Linked DNA regions of Homo sapiens: all the other regions are linked to region 3. Evidence: promoter capture Hi-C in human tissues and cell types (Jung and others, 2019). All regions are on one chromosome and are shown on one strand. The core of a region is centred on a gene start or on the middle of the fragment in contact, and the rest is flanking DNA. Distances in the headings are between cores, read along the strand shown.

Region 1 (4,383 bases), core at 498-2,997, 43 kb before region 3:
TGCAGTGAGTTGTGACCGCACCATTGCACAGCCTAGGCAACAGAGTGAGATCTTGTTTCAAAAACAAATCAACAACAACAACAACAATAAAAACCAAATAAATGACAAGTGAGAAATAACTATTGAAAGGAGTAAATACAAAGTAATAAGGGTTGGGTGCAGTGGCTCATGCCTATAGTCCTGGCACTTTGGGAGGCTGAGGTGGGTAAATCGGTTGAGCTTAGGAGTTCAAGACCAGCCTGGGCAACGTGTGAAAACCCTGTCTCTACACAAATACAACAACAACAAAAAAATTAGCTGGGCCTGGTTGCACGGTGCCTGTAGTCTCAGCTACTCAGGAGGCTGATGTGGGAGGATCACTTGAGCCCGGGAGATTGTGGCTGCAGTGAGCTGTGATTGCACTCCAGCCTGGGTGATAGAGTGAGAACCTGTCTCAAAATAAAATAATAAGATCATAATGACATCAGGGAAGGTGGCAGAGTAGAAAACATCAGGAATCAATCTCTCTACCTAGTCAATTGTACTGACAGAATCTGTCTAATATAACTATGTTGGAACTCTGGAATCTATCACAAGGGTTGCAACTTCCAGGGGAAGACTGTGGCTAATTTCAGTCAATTTCAGCTCTCACACTTTTGGAGCAACTTGGACTTGGCTTGCAGGAGCCAGGGTAGGCAATAAGAACCTTGTCTTCCATGTATCTGGGATCTATGTTTTGATCCCTGATTGCTGCTTCTGATGGTAGAGGTGTAGTCACAGAAGTGAGCTGCCATTGTTGTAACCCCCATTGTCATTTTTACAATCCACACTGGAAAAGTGACTTCCAGGAGACTTAAAAAGCCAATGACTGGCTTTCCTCCCCTTCATCTTTCCCTTTTCCCCCTTTTAGGGGCCAGACATTTAAGGACTAGGACATCCGAAGTAACTACATACACAAGGGAATAGGGAAAGTCACCATGCATGTCCAGGGAAAGGCATAGACTCAGAGAAGACCTTCAATTTATTTCTCAATCTTATCCCCAGCTTAGAGACACCATACAACCATGAAAATAAAATAAAATAAAACAGCATGCCTTTTTTATCCATGTGCCAAAAAAGAAAGCAAACCCTGGGGAAGGAGAGAATTTTATTTCCAGAGTTACCACATTATAAGATTCAAAAGTCCAGTTTTCAAATACAACAACAAAATCACAAGACATACAAAGAAACATTAAAGTATGGCCCATCTAAGGAAAAAAATGTCAACAGAAAACATTCCTCAGCAACTGTCTTAAAGATGCTCAAAGAGCTAAACGAAGAAGTGGACAAAGTCAAGAAAATGATATATGAATAAAATGAAAAAATTTTTCAATATTTATTGAAAAATAAAGAAAAAACATAAAAAGGAACAAAAAATTCTGGAGCTGAAAAGTACAATAACTACAATGTAAATTTGACTAAAGGGATTCCAAAAGCAGATGTGAGTAGGTAGAAGAAAGATTCAGACCAACATATGCACTGTAGGAGTTTCAAAAGAAAAAGAGGGAAAGGGAAAAAGGAATTTTTTTTTTTTTTTTTTGCAGAAATAAGGGCTAGAAATGCCCCAAACTGGGTGAAAAACATGAATACAAACATCCAAGTTGCTCAACAAAGTTGAAGTGGAATAAACTCAAGAGAGGTCCCACCAGGAAATATTATAGTCAAACTGTGAAAGGCCAAAGGCAAAGAGAAAATCTTGGAAACAGCAAGGAAGAAGCAACTGTTTACATACAAGAGATTCTGAATAAGATTGTCTCCTGATTTCTTACCAGAAACTGTGGAGGCCAGAAGCCAGTGGATCAATATATGCAAAATGTTGAAAGGAAAAAACTGTCAAGCAAGAATCCTTTACCTGGCAAAACTGTCCATCAAAAATGAAGAAGAAATTAAGAGGCCAGCCATGGTGGCTCATAACTGTAATCCCAGCACTTTGGGAGATCAATATAGGTGGATCACTTGAGCCCAAGAGTTTGACACCAGCATGGGTAACATAGTGAGACCCCATCTCTACAAAAAAAAAAAAATACATATACCATTATAAAAGCTAGTATTACTGTAACTTTGATTTAAAACACCACATTTTGTTTATATTATTTAAGAGACTAAGCATTAAAAAAATCACTAAGAAGCTTGTGTTTTTGGACATACAATGCACAAAAATGTAATTTTATGACATCAGTAACTGAAAGGGATGGGCACAGAACTGCATAGGAGCAGAGTTTTTGTATGCCTTTGAAGTTAAGGTGGTATAAATTCAAATTAGGTTGGGCACGGTGGCTCATGCCTGTAATCCCAGCACTTAGGGAGGCCAAGGCAGGTAGATCACCTGAGGTCAGGAGTTCAAGACTAGCCTGGCCAACATGGCAAAACTGCGTCTCTACTAAAAATACAAAAGTTAGCCGTGGTTGCACACTTCTGTAATCCCAGCTACTCGGGAGGCTGAGGCAAGAGAATCGCTTGAACCCGGGAGGCAGAGGTTGTAGTGAGCTGAGATTGCACCACTGCACTCTAGCCTGGGCAGCAGAGCAAGACTCCATCTCAATAAATAAATAAATAAATAAATTCAAATTAGTGTTATAATTTTAGGATGTCAAATGTAATTTTCATGATAACCACAGAGAAAATATCCATAACATATGTACAAAAGGATACACACACACACACAAGCATTTAAAACTTTTCACTACAAAAATCTTAACTAAACACAGGACAGTAATGCAAGAAATGAAGAACACAAAGGGTATAAGGCATATAGAAAACAAAAGCAAAAGGGCACAATTAAATCCCTCTTTGTCAGTAGATACTTTAAATGTAAACGGATTAAACTCTCCAATCAAAATACAGAAATCAGCATAATGTATAAAAAACATGAATCAAGTATATGATGTCTACAAGAAATCATGTTAGATAAAGACACAAATAGGTTGAAAGTAAAAGGATGGAAAAAGATATTACATACAAATAGTAAACAAAAGAGAGTGGGGTGTCTATACTAACATCACACAAAACAGACTTTAAATCAAAAAAGTTTACACAAGACAAAGAAAGGGATTACATATTAATAAAAGGTAAAATAAAGCATGAAGATAAAACAATTATAAACATTTATGCACTTAACAACAGACCATCAAAATATATGAAGCAAAAACTGATAGAATTGAAGGGAGAAAGAAACAGCTCTACAATAATAGTCAGAGACATCAGCTGGGCCTGGTAGCTCATGCCTGTAATCCCAGCACTTTCGGAGGCCAAGATGGGCAGATCACATGAGGCCAGGAGTTTGAGACCAGCCTGGCCAACATGGCAGAAACCACTGTCTCTACTAAAAATACAAAAATTAGCTGGGCGTGGTAGTACATGTCTGTAATCCCAGTTACTCAGAGGCTGAGGCATGAGAATCGCTTGAACCCAGGAGGTGGAGGTTGCAGTGAGCCGATGAGATCAGATGGTGCCACTGCACTCCAGCCTGGGCTATAGAACAAGACTCCCTCTCAAAAAAAAAAAGAAAGAAAGAAAAAATCGGAGACCTCAATACCCCACTCTCAATAATGGATAGAACCATCAGACAGAAAATAAGGAAAGAAGCAGAGGACCTGAACAACACGATATACCAACTAGATCTAACAGACATAGGCAGAACACCCAACCCAACAACAACACAATACACATTCTTCTCAAGCGTACATGGGCATTCTCTAATATAGACCATAGAGTAGGCCGCAAATCAATTCTCAGTAGATTTTTTAAAAATAAATATGATACAAAGTACCTTATCTGACCACAAAGGTAAGTTAAAAATCAGTAACAGAATAAAAACTGAAAAATGCACAAATCTGTGGAAATTAAAAAACACACTCTTAAATAATCAATGTGTCAAACAAGAAAGCCTAGAGAAATTAGGAGATAGAGACAAATGGGATTAAGAACACACTATTTTCATTTGCACAATAAATGAAAATACCTAATGACAATATGAAAACTTATGTGATGTAGCAAAAGCAGTGCGAAGGGAGTAATATATAGCTGACAATACTTAACATTAAAAAAGAAGAAAGATCTCAAATCAGGCCATGTGCTGTGACTCACATCTGTAATTCCAGCACTTGGGTGGCCATGATGGGTGGATTCCTTAAGTCCAGGAGTTTGAGACCAGCCTGGGCATGGCAAAGCCCTGTTTCTACAAAAAATACAAAAATTAGCTGGGTGTGGTGGTGCACACCTGTAGTCCCAGTTATCAGGAGGCTGAAGTGGGAGGATCTGGCTGAGCCTGGATGGTTGTAGTGAGCTGTGATTGTAACACTGCACTCCAGCCTGGGCAGCAGAGTGAGTCCCTGTCTCCAAAAAAAAAAAAAAAAAAGAGAGAGA
Region 2 (4,440 bases), core at 785-3,284, 38 kb after region 3:
GATGAGGTGAGAGGATTGTTTGAGCTCACGAGTTTGAAGGTATAGTGGCCTATGATGGCACCACTGCACTCCAACCTGGGCAATAGAGTGAGACCCTGTCTCAAAAAAAAAAAAAAAAAAAAGTTTAAAGACACAGTGAGTGTGCTGGCCCCCTCTGCTCTATGAACAAGAGACCAAATGACGAGGTCAGCTTTACCAAGCAGTTATCACAGTGCTGGTCACATTTTCCCTTCTGAATGTATCAGTTTGGTTTGGGGTCGCGTTTCTAAGGTAGAGACAACTTGCCTTACCAAGGTAATAAGGATCTTCCCCTCCAGAAAGAACAGAATTATCAAAAAGATCAAGAAAAGTTTCAAAATGACTGATGGACCTTTGTCTGAATATTGGTGTATGGCTTTTGTGTGTCAAAAATCCAGGGATAAAAATATGACACTTTTCTTAAACTATCCCTTCTGTTCATAAAGAAACTTCCTATCTCTGAGTGTTGAATCTGTTCTCAGGGAACCCCCATGATACCAATGTCCCTCATCTAGGGAGGCTTTTGAAGCCTGGGGACATACACAAAATTGTTTCTGACTGCTGCTGGTCTAGGACCAATAAAACCCTCCGAATGCACACAGTCCCCGGTGTAATTTCCAATACTTCCACACTCTTTCCACAAATAGCCACCACCATTAAAGGGTTTTAATGTTTCATTCAAAATGGATTAGTTCCTGTGGCCAATAGCCAATGTAATTATAATGAATGTTGTATTAATCCTTATGATATTTCCCTGAGTTCAATACATCACTGTATCTTAATCTTCCGCTATTCAGTTGCTCAATTACCCAATTAGACTGTTGGTGATCATTTACTGGGACTTATTTCATCTGTGGTACATGAGCTTACTTTTGGTTCCTAAGGAATTGGTCTGGCTTATGTGATTATGGGGATATTATTCTGGTTATGCACCACTTCTAGTCTCTCCCCTAAGCAAAATTATGGAATCTCGGAGAAATAACTGAAATGGAAAGGCTCTGGACATTAACTTTCCCAATATATGGTGTTGCCAGGTCCATTAAGAAAAATTATTTAACATTTTAGAACAAGTTGGTAATGTCACATATAATAACATTCTAGATGATGTAACAACAAAAAAGACTTCTGCCACTAGCGGTATGGCTCACTACATATTTTGAAAAGCTCTTCTTTAAAATATATTGATAGTGGATACATTTCAACAAATAGATATTTATACACTTAGGAGTACAAGGAACTAAGGAAAATCTCTAGGAGCCTGAAACAAACACAAAAAGCTGAAATCGGTGATGTGCCCATATGGAAACAAGACTACCATGGGGAGGCCAAGTGCAGTGGCTCATGCCTGTAATTCCAGCACCTTGGGAGTCTGAGGCAGGTGGATCACTTGAGGTCACGAGTTCAAGACCAGCCTGGCCAACATGGCAAAACCCCATCTCTATGGGAAAAAAAATACAAAAATTAGACAGGTGCGGGGGTGGGCACCTGTAGTTCCAGCTGCTTGGGAGGTTGAGGCAAGAGAATTGCTTGAACCCGGGAGGTGGAGGTTGCAGTGAGCCAAGATTGTGCCACTGGACTCCAGCCTGGGTGACATGAGACTCTGTCTCAAAAGAAAAAAAAAAAAAACTACCATGGGGAAAATGCCAATACTAGAAACCTAGAGCTTTGAGTTTTGAGCTAAGCTTCGTTTAAACCTAGTGCTTTAAACTAAACAGATTTAGTTTAACATGAGATAGTGTTACAGAACCAACAATAACAAAACAGATTAACTAAATCTGTTTAACTGAATCTGATTAACTAATTTTTTTTTTTTTTTTTTTTACAGGATCTTGTTCTGTTACCCAGGCTGGAGTGCAATGGCGCTATCTTGGCTCACTGCAACCTCTGCCTCCTAGGCACAACAGATTAACTAAATCTGTTTTGTTACTCTATCTTACAGTGGTATACTTCCTCATGCAGTAGATTTTCTTTCATATTAGTTGTCCATTTTGATTAAATTAACATATAAGATTAAATTATGTAAATTTGAGGTGGGGTGCGGTGGTTTCTGCCCATAATCCCAACACTGTGGCAGACCAAGGTGGGTGGATTGCTTCAGTCCAGGAGTTCGAGACCAGGTTGGGCAACATGGTAAAACTCCATCCCTACAAAAAATACAAAAATTAGCCACGCATGGTGGCACATGCCTATAGTCCCAGCTACTTGAGAGGCTGAGGCAGGAGGATTGTTTGAGCCTAGGAGACAGAGGTTGCAGTGAGCCGAGATCACGCCATCGCACTCCAGCCTGGGTAACAGAACAAGATCCTGCAAAAAAAAAAAAAAAAAAAAAATTCAATATAATTCACCATGAATTAAAGAAGAAAATATGAGATCATCCAATTAAAGGCAGATAAAAAGGATTTGATAAAAATTCAACATACTTTTAAAGAAAATTAAAATAGTGGAAGGACATGCTTTATCAGCTACCAAGACTTATTGTAAAATACGATAATTAAGACACAGAGAGAGCCTGGTGCTGTGGCTCACGCCTGTAATCCCAGCACTTTGGGAGGCCAAGGCGGGCATATCACGAGGTCAGGAGATGGAGACCATACTGGCTAACATGGTGAAACCCCGTCTCTACTAAAAATATAAAAAATTAGCCAGGGGTGGTGGTGGGCGCCTGCAGTCCCAGCTACTCGGGAGGCTGAGGCTGGAGAACGGTGTGAACCCGGGAGGCGGGGCTTGCAGTGAGCCTAGATTGCACCAATGCACTCCAGCCTGGACGACAGAGCAAGACTCCGTCTCAAAAAAAAAAAAAAAAAAAAGACACAGAGGGGCCAGGTACGGTGGCTCACGCCTGTAATCTTAGCACTTTGGGAGGCTAAGGTGAGTGGATCACGAGGTCAGGAATTTGATACCAGCCTGGCCAACATGGTGAAATCCCATCTCTACTAAAAATACAAAAATTAGCCACGCATGGTGGCACGCACCTGTAATCCCATCTACTCAGGAGGCTGAGACAGGAGAATTGCTTGAACCCAGGAGGCAGAGGTTGTAGTAAGCCGAGATCACGCCACTGCACTCCAGCCTGGGCGACAGAGTGAGACTCTGTCTCAAAAAAAGAAAAAAAAAAAAGACATGGAGGGATTAGTGCAGGCACAAATAGAAAAATGGGTAAAACAGACAGGCTAGAAATGGACCCAAGCATATATGGATTCCTGATATATGACAGAGCCGTCACCAAAGAACAATAGGGGAAGGATGTTCTTTCCAAAACATGGCACTCAGACAATTGGCTATCTGGATGGAAAAAATGAAGTTGAACTCTGATCTCATACCATATATGAAATATTTTCCAGGAGGATTAAATCTGACTGATTTGTCAATCAGGTTCCGGTCAGGAAAAAGAAACCATACCAGTAATTTGAACAGGGAAATTTTAATATAAAGAATTACTAGGCCAGGCGTGGTGGCTCACGTCTTGTAATGCTAGCACTTTGAGAGGCTGAGGTGGGAGGATCGCTTGAGCCCAGGAGTTTGAGACCAGCCAGGGCAACAGAGTGAGACCTCACCTCTATGAAAAATAACAAAAAATGTAGCTGAGCATGGTGGCGGTATGTGCCTATAGTCCCAGCTAGTTGGGAGGCTGAGGTGGGAGAATTGCTTTAGCCCAGGAGGTCGAGGCTGAACTGTGATTTGCGCCAACACACTCCAACCTGGGCAACAGAGCAAGACTGTCTCAAAAAAAAAAAAAGGAGAAGAAAAGAAAAGAATGATTAACTAGTCACAAGGGGTTAACTAAATTATATGTGCAGAGAACTCCGAATAATACAGGCATAGCAGATGTAGGGAGCAGACACCCTCTCTATGGTGAAGGCAGAGTACCAAGGAAAGGAGTAAGCTTGGAATAGAGCTGCCCATGAATTAAAGAAGAAAATATGAGATCATCTAATTAAAGGCAGAAAAAAGGATTTGATAAAAATTCAACATACTGTTAAAGAAAATTAAAATGGAGGAAGAACATACTTTATCAGCTACCAAGACTTATTGTAAAATATGATAATTAAGACATGGAGGGGCCAGGCACGGTGTCTCATGCCTGTAATCCCAGCACTTTGGGAGGCTGAGGCTGAGATTCAGACCTCCCTGTAGAGGGTGTCACTGTGCTCCACTGGATGGGAGAGAAGGTACCACAGACCAGGGTGGCAGGAAGGAAACGGTCCACTGGGGCACTGGTGAAACTTGCTAGGAAACCACCTGTTGTGGGGGTGCCTAGCTGGGAAGCTGCCTGCTGGCATCCACACCAGTGGAACAAGAAGGAAAAGCGGCCGGGCACAGCAGCTCGTGTCTGTAATCCCAGTACTTTGGGAGGCCGAGGTGGGCAGATCATGAGGTCAGGAGATTGAGACCATCCTGGCTAACACGGTGAAACCCTGTCTC
Region 3 (4,243 bases), core at 707-3,206:
AACTAGGTAAATGACTATTGGGTGGGCACCTCTGGGGTGCTCAGCCTCTCCTCCCTAACTCTCAGCAATGGCCCTCTTGTTTTCCCAGTCCTTCATGGCAAATTAAGTTGTCTAAACATGCCTTCACCACTACTTTGCCTTATGAGTCTCCCAAATTTGCTCTGGCCTCTATCTCTCCACAGAACCAGCTTTCATAAAGGTCACCACTGATGACTTCCATCCCACTATGACCAAGCAGCACTTTCCAGACTCCTCGCTTGAACTCTCAGGAGCTTATACGACCACTGGCCACACCCTTCTTAGAATGCTTGGCCTCTCTAACACGCATGGCCACACTTTCCAAGTTTTTCTCCTTCCCTTCTCTCAGACCCCCTCCTTCACAGTTTCTTTTGCAGATTTCCCTTTCCCTGCTCTCTCTGGGCAAGCTTCCCCATGCCAGTGGTTTTGTTTCTGTTTACAGTCCAACTATTCCTAAATCTGGAATCTTCGCTCTGGCGAAGATGGCTCCTGAATTTTCCAGCTACCTATTGTTTGAGTCCTTTCGGATGGCCCACATGCTCTTCTAATGGACTATGGCCAAAATTCACTAGCATCTTTGCCCACCTCCCTCAAACAACAAATTAATCTTGTCCTTCTCATCCTTCACTCTCTCTCAGAAAATGTCACTATTGTCACCCAATTGTGCAAGCAAGAAATCTGTTACTCTAGATGTCTCCCTCACCACCCGGGGACCAATGATTGTGGTCTCTGCCTCCAAAACATCTCCACAATCTATGATATATTTAGCTTCTCCATCTCCACTCTCACTTCTGCAGGTAGGCCGCCATTTGAATTCTCACCTGGATTATCACAAAAGCTTTCTAACTGTTGCCTTGAATCCAGCCCACATCCACCAGGGCACTCCTTTGAAAATGCAAATCTAATTGAGACAGATTATGTTTAAACTCATCAATGGCTTCCCACTGTTCTTGGAATAAACAAGCCCTGAATGATCTCAATGGTGTCCCTGGGGCCACCCTTCCATCACTGTCTAGGCCCTGGTCTTTCAGTTCCTCCTAAGAGGAAGCATGCAGCCTGTGGTCTCAGACCTGGGAACCTTTCACCTGACGGGTTCTTTAGTCCCAGAACAGAGTCTCAGCTGTCTCCTAAGCCTCCCAAATCGGGTCAAACACCTCTGGTATCTGCTCCCACGCGCCCCTGACTTCTTCTTCATGTAACGCTGTACAATTCCAATCATTCAGTTAACGATTTATTCATACAATTTTATATATATCTGTTTCATGGTAAATTCATCATTGTATTTCCAGGGTCTGGGAAAAGCCTACCACTTAGTAGGGCTCCAATTAACATTTTTGGGGTTTTTTTTTTTTTTCCTGTTGTTTCCTGCTCACTTCCTAACTTGGTCTTTGCTGTCCTGCCTACTCAAGTCCCTCACCAGAAAGTTGCCTAGAACCCTCTTACCCGCCACGCGGCCAACACAAGCTCTACTGCTGGGCGAACATTGTTGGAATAAACGACGTATGATTTACACCCTCAATCTCACAACCCTCCCTTTCCAATCCCTCCCCAGTCTCCCATCCCTCCCTTTGCAACCCCTCCCCAATCTCCCATCCCTCCCTTTGCAACCCCTCCCCAATCTCCCATTCCTTCCTTTGCCACCCCTCCCCTCGGATTTCTACCCCTCGGGTTTCTGCTTCCCTCCGCCTCACCTCTCCTCCAAGGCCTCCCCTCCCCGCCGCCCCCTAGCCTGGGCCCGCCCGGCCTGCCAGGGGCTGGCACCTGACTCACCTGGGCAGCCTGGTGCGCCGCCTGCCACCGGCTCAGCTCCCCAGCCTCCTGTTCCATCTCAGCCTGCGGTCGGCCGTACATGAAGACTGGGTGGGGTCTAGACTCTCTACTGAAGAGACAGGGAACCAGCCACCACGGCGTCGCAGGCGGGTATCGGTACATCGCCACGCCACAATCACCTTCTATTTACCTATTTACAGCTGCGCCAAGGGGCGGGGTCAGGCCCCACCCGTCCCGCCCTGCGCCGCCCTCGCAGCCCTGCCCCAGGCTGCCACCCACCCTCACCATGCCCCAACCAAGGCAGCCTCACGGACAGCCAGCCACTTCAGGCCTTGAACGCTTCTTAAAGGAATTTGGTCCGCCCACCCAACCGACCCATTCCACCCCTCAGTCTGAGCAACTGTTTCACCCAAGTGGGGACTGAGGACACCCAGGTCTCCAACTCCAGCCAGGAGGAGGCTGGAGAGAGAGGCGAGGCTGGAGAGAGAGGCAAGGTTGGGTGTAGGGCCTCTACCGATAGGAGAGCCTCCACCAGCACTCTCTCAGGTCGGGATCTTGCCATAAGCTTTGGAAGGGCTGGAGCTTTTCTGCTACAGTCTGTGCACCTCTGTCCCTTGTCTGTACGAACTGAAGACTGGGAGCTTCATGGCACAACCTGTTTATTCCGCAGTGTTTACTGAGTGCCCCGTGTGTGTTGGGCACTGATCTCTGAACTAGGGGTAAAATAGTAAACAGGACAGAACAAAGTCCTTGCTGTCAATTTCCATCTTATACGGGAAGACAAGAAATGAGTAATAAAGTTGTTAACTATTATAATTTTAGGTGGTGGTGAGTGCTATGGAAAACCAAAACAGAAATGTGAGCTGAAAATGAAATGCCTGAAAGGAGCCAGCCATAGGAAGATTGAAGGGCTCTAAGGCAAAAAAGAGCCCAACGGTGCTAGAAGGAAATTGAAGGCAAGGTGACCACGGTGATACCACATGGACAGTGACACGAGGACAGAGGGATAGGGCCTTGAAGACCATAGAAAGGAATTTGGATTTTATTCTAAGTGTGGCGGGAAGCCACTGATGCTTTTAAACAGGAATTTGATGTGATCTGATATATGTTTTTAAAATAAACCATTTGGCTCCTTATGGATTATAAAGGGCCAGAGGGGTGCAGAGACACCAGTTAGAAATCTAAAGGAGATGAGGCTGGGCGCAGTGGTTCACGCCTGCAACGCCAGCACTTTGGGAGGCTGAGGCGGGCAGATCACTTGAGGTCAGGAGTTTGAGACCAGCCTGGCCAACATGGTGAAACCCCGTCTCTACTAAAAATAAAAAATTAGCCAGGCGTGGTGGCGCGTGCCTGTAATCCCAGCTACTCAGGAGGCTGAGGCAGGAGAATCGCTTGAATCCGGGTGGTGGAGGTTCCAGTGTGTCGAGATCGCGCCATTGCACTCCAGCCTGGGCAACAAGAGCAAAATTCCGTCTCAAAAAATAAAATAAAATAAAATATAAAATAAAATAAAATAAAATAAATAAAATAAAATAAAATAAAATAAAATAAATAAAAAAGGAGCTGTCCAAGAAAGAGATGTCAGTGTTTGGTCATGGAGGTGGTGCCCACCTGTAGTCCCAGCTACTCAGGAGGCTGAGGCGGGAGACCACTTGAGCCCAGGAGGTCTGGGCTGCAGTGTGCTGTGCTGATTGGGTGTCCACACTAAGTTCAGCATCAGTATGGTGAGCTCCCAGGAGTGGGGCACCACCAGGTTGCCTAAGGAGGGATGAACTGGCCCAGGTCAGAAATAGAGTAGGTCAAAACTCCTATGCTGATTGGTAATGGGATTACTACACCTGTGAATGGCCAGTGCACTCCAACCTTGGCAACATAGTGAGATCCCATCTCTAAAAAAAAAGAATGAAAAACAGAATTTGTAATGGATCAGAAGGGGGTAGGGAGGGAGGGAAAGAGGAATCAAAAAGGCTCCTAGATTATTGGCTTGAGCAACTGCATGATGATCGTGCCACTTGGTATATGGAAAGATAGGAAGAGGAGCAGATTTGGAGGCAACTGAAACAAGAATTCCATTTTAGACACTGATTTTGAGATGTCTATTAATTATGCTCAGAGAAGGTCAGGGCTGTAAATGTAAACTTGGGTGTTGTCAGCATAGAGATGGTAGTTAGAAGGCCATTAGAGTGGATGCTATCAACACTGGAGATAGTTTGACAACAGGACAGAGGACAGAGCCTGGGGACTCCTACATTTAAGGCCCAGCAGAACAGCAAAGTCATCCAAAGAACCTGAGAGGTTGAAATAAACAGGTAAGTGACTACTGGATTTGGCAAGACGGAGGTCACTGGTGACTCTGACAAAACCAAGTGCAGTAGAAAGGAAGCCTGATTGGACTGGGCTGCCAAGGGAAGAGGAGTTGATGGAGTGGGACATTATCTCTAAACTCTAAACAAGA

The links. Contacts are between HindIII fragments. The study calls those that stand out against the background at their distance.
Region 1: a contact is called between a fragment that was not itself captured here and the fragment with the promoter of KLF17 in region 3, in 1 of the 25 tissues and cell types used here (mesendoderm cells).
Region 2: a fragment that was not itself captured here is called in contact with the fragment with the promoter of KLF17 in region 3 in 2 of the 25 tissues and cell types used here (mesendoderm cells and thymus).

The regions. Positions count from the first base shown.
Region 1 is chr1:44,159,146-44,163,528 of GRCh38, reverse strand. No RefSeq gene overlaps it. Among named protein-coding and RNA genes, the nearest start is that of KLF18, 20 kb to the right of the region's middle. The HindIII fragment of the contact is 5,737 bases long and covers 1-4,383 here.
Region 2 is chr1:44,078,622-44,083,061 of GRCh38, reverse strand. It overlaps a transcript of KLF17 not described here. Among named protein-coding and RNA genes, the nearest start is that of KLF17, 38 kb to the left of the region's middle. The HindIII fragment of the contact is 4,690 bases long and covers 1-4,379 here.
Region 3 is chr1:44,116,534-44,120,776 of GRCh38, reverse strand. KLF17 (KLF transcription factor 17) reads right to left here and starts at 1,956. Exons shown (of 4, transcript NM_173484.4): 1 at 1,789-1,956. The coding sequence starts at 1,869. It also overlaps the pseudogene RN7SL479P. RefSeq lists an enhancer at 643-1,410 and a promoter at 1,979-2,967. The HindIII fragment of the contact is 4,517 bases long and covers 642-4,243 here.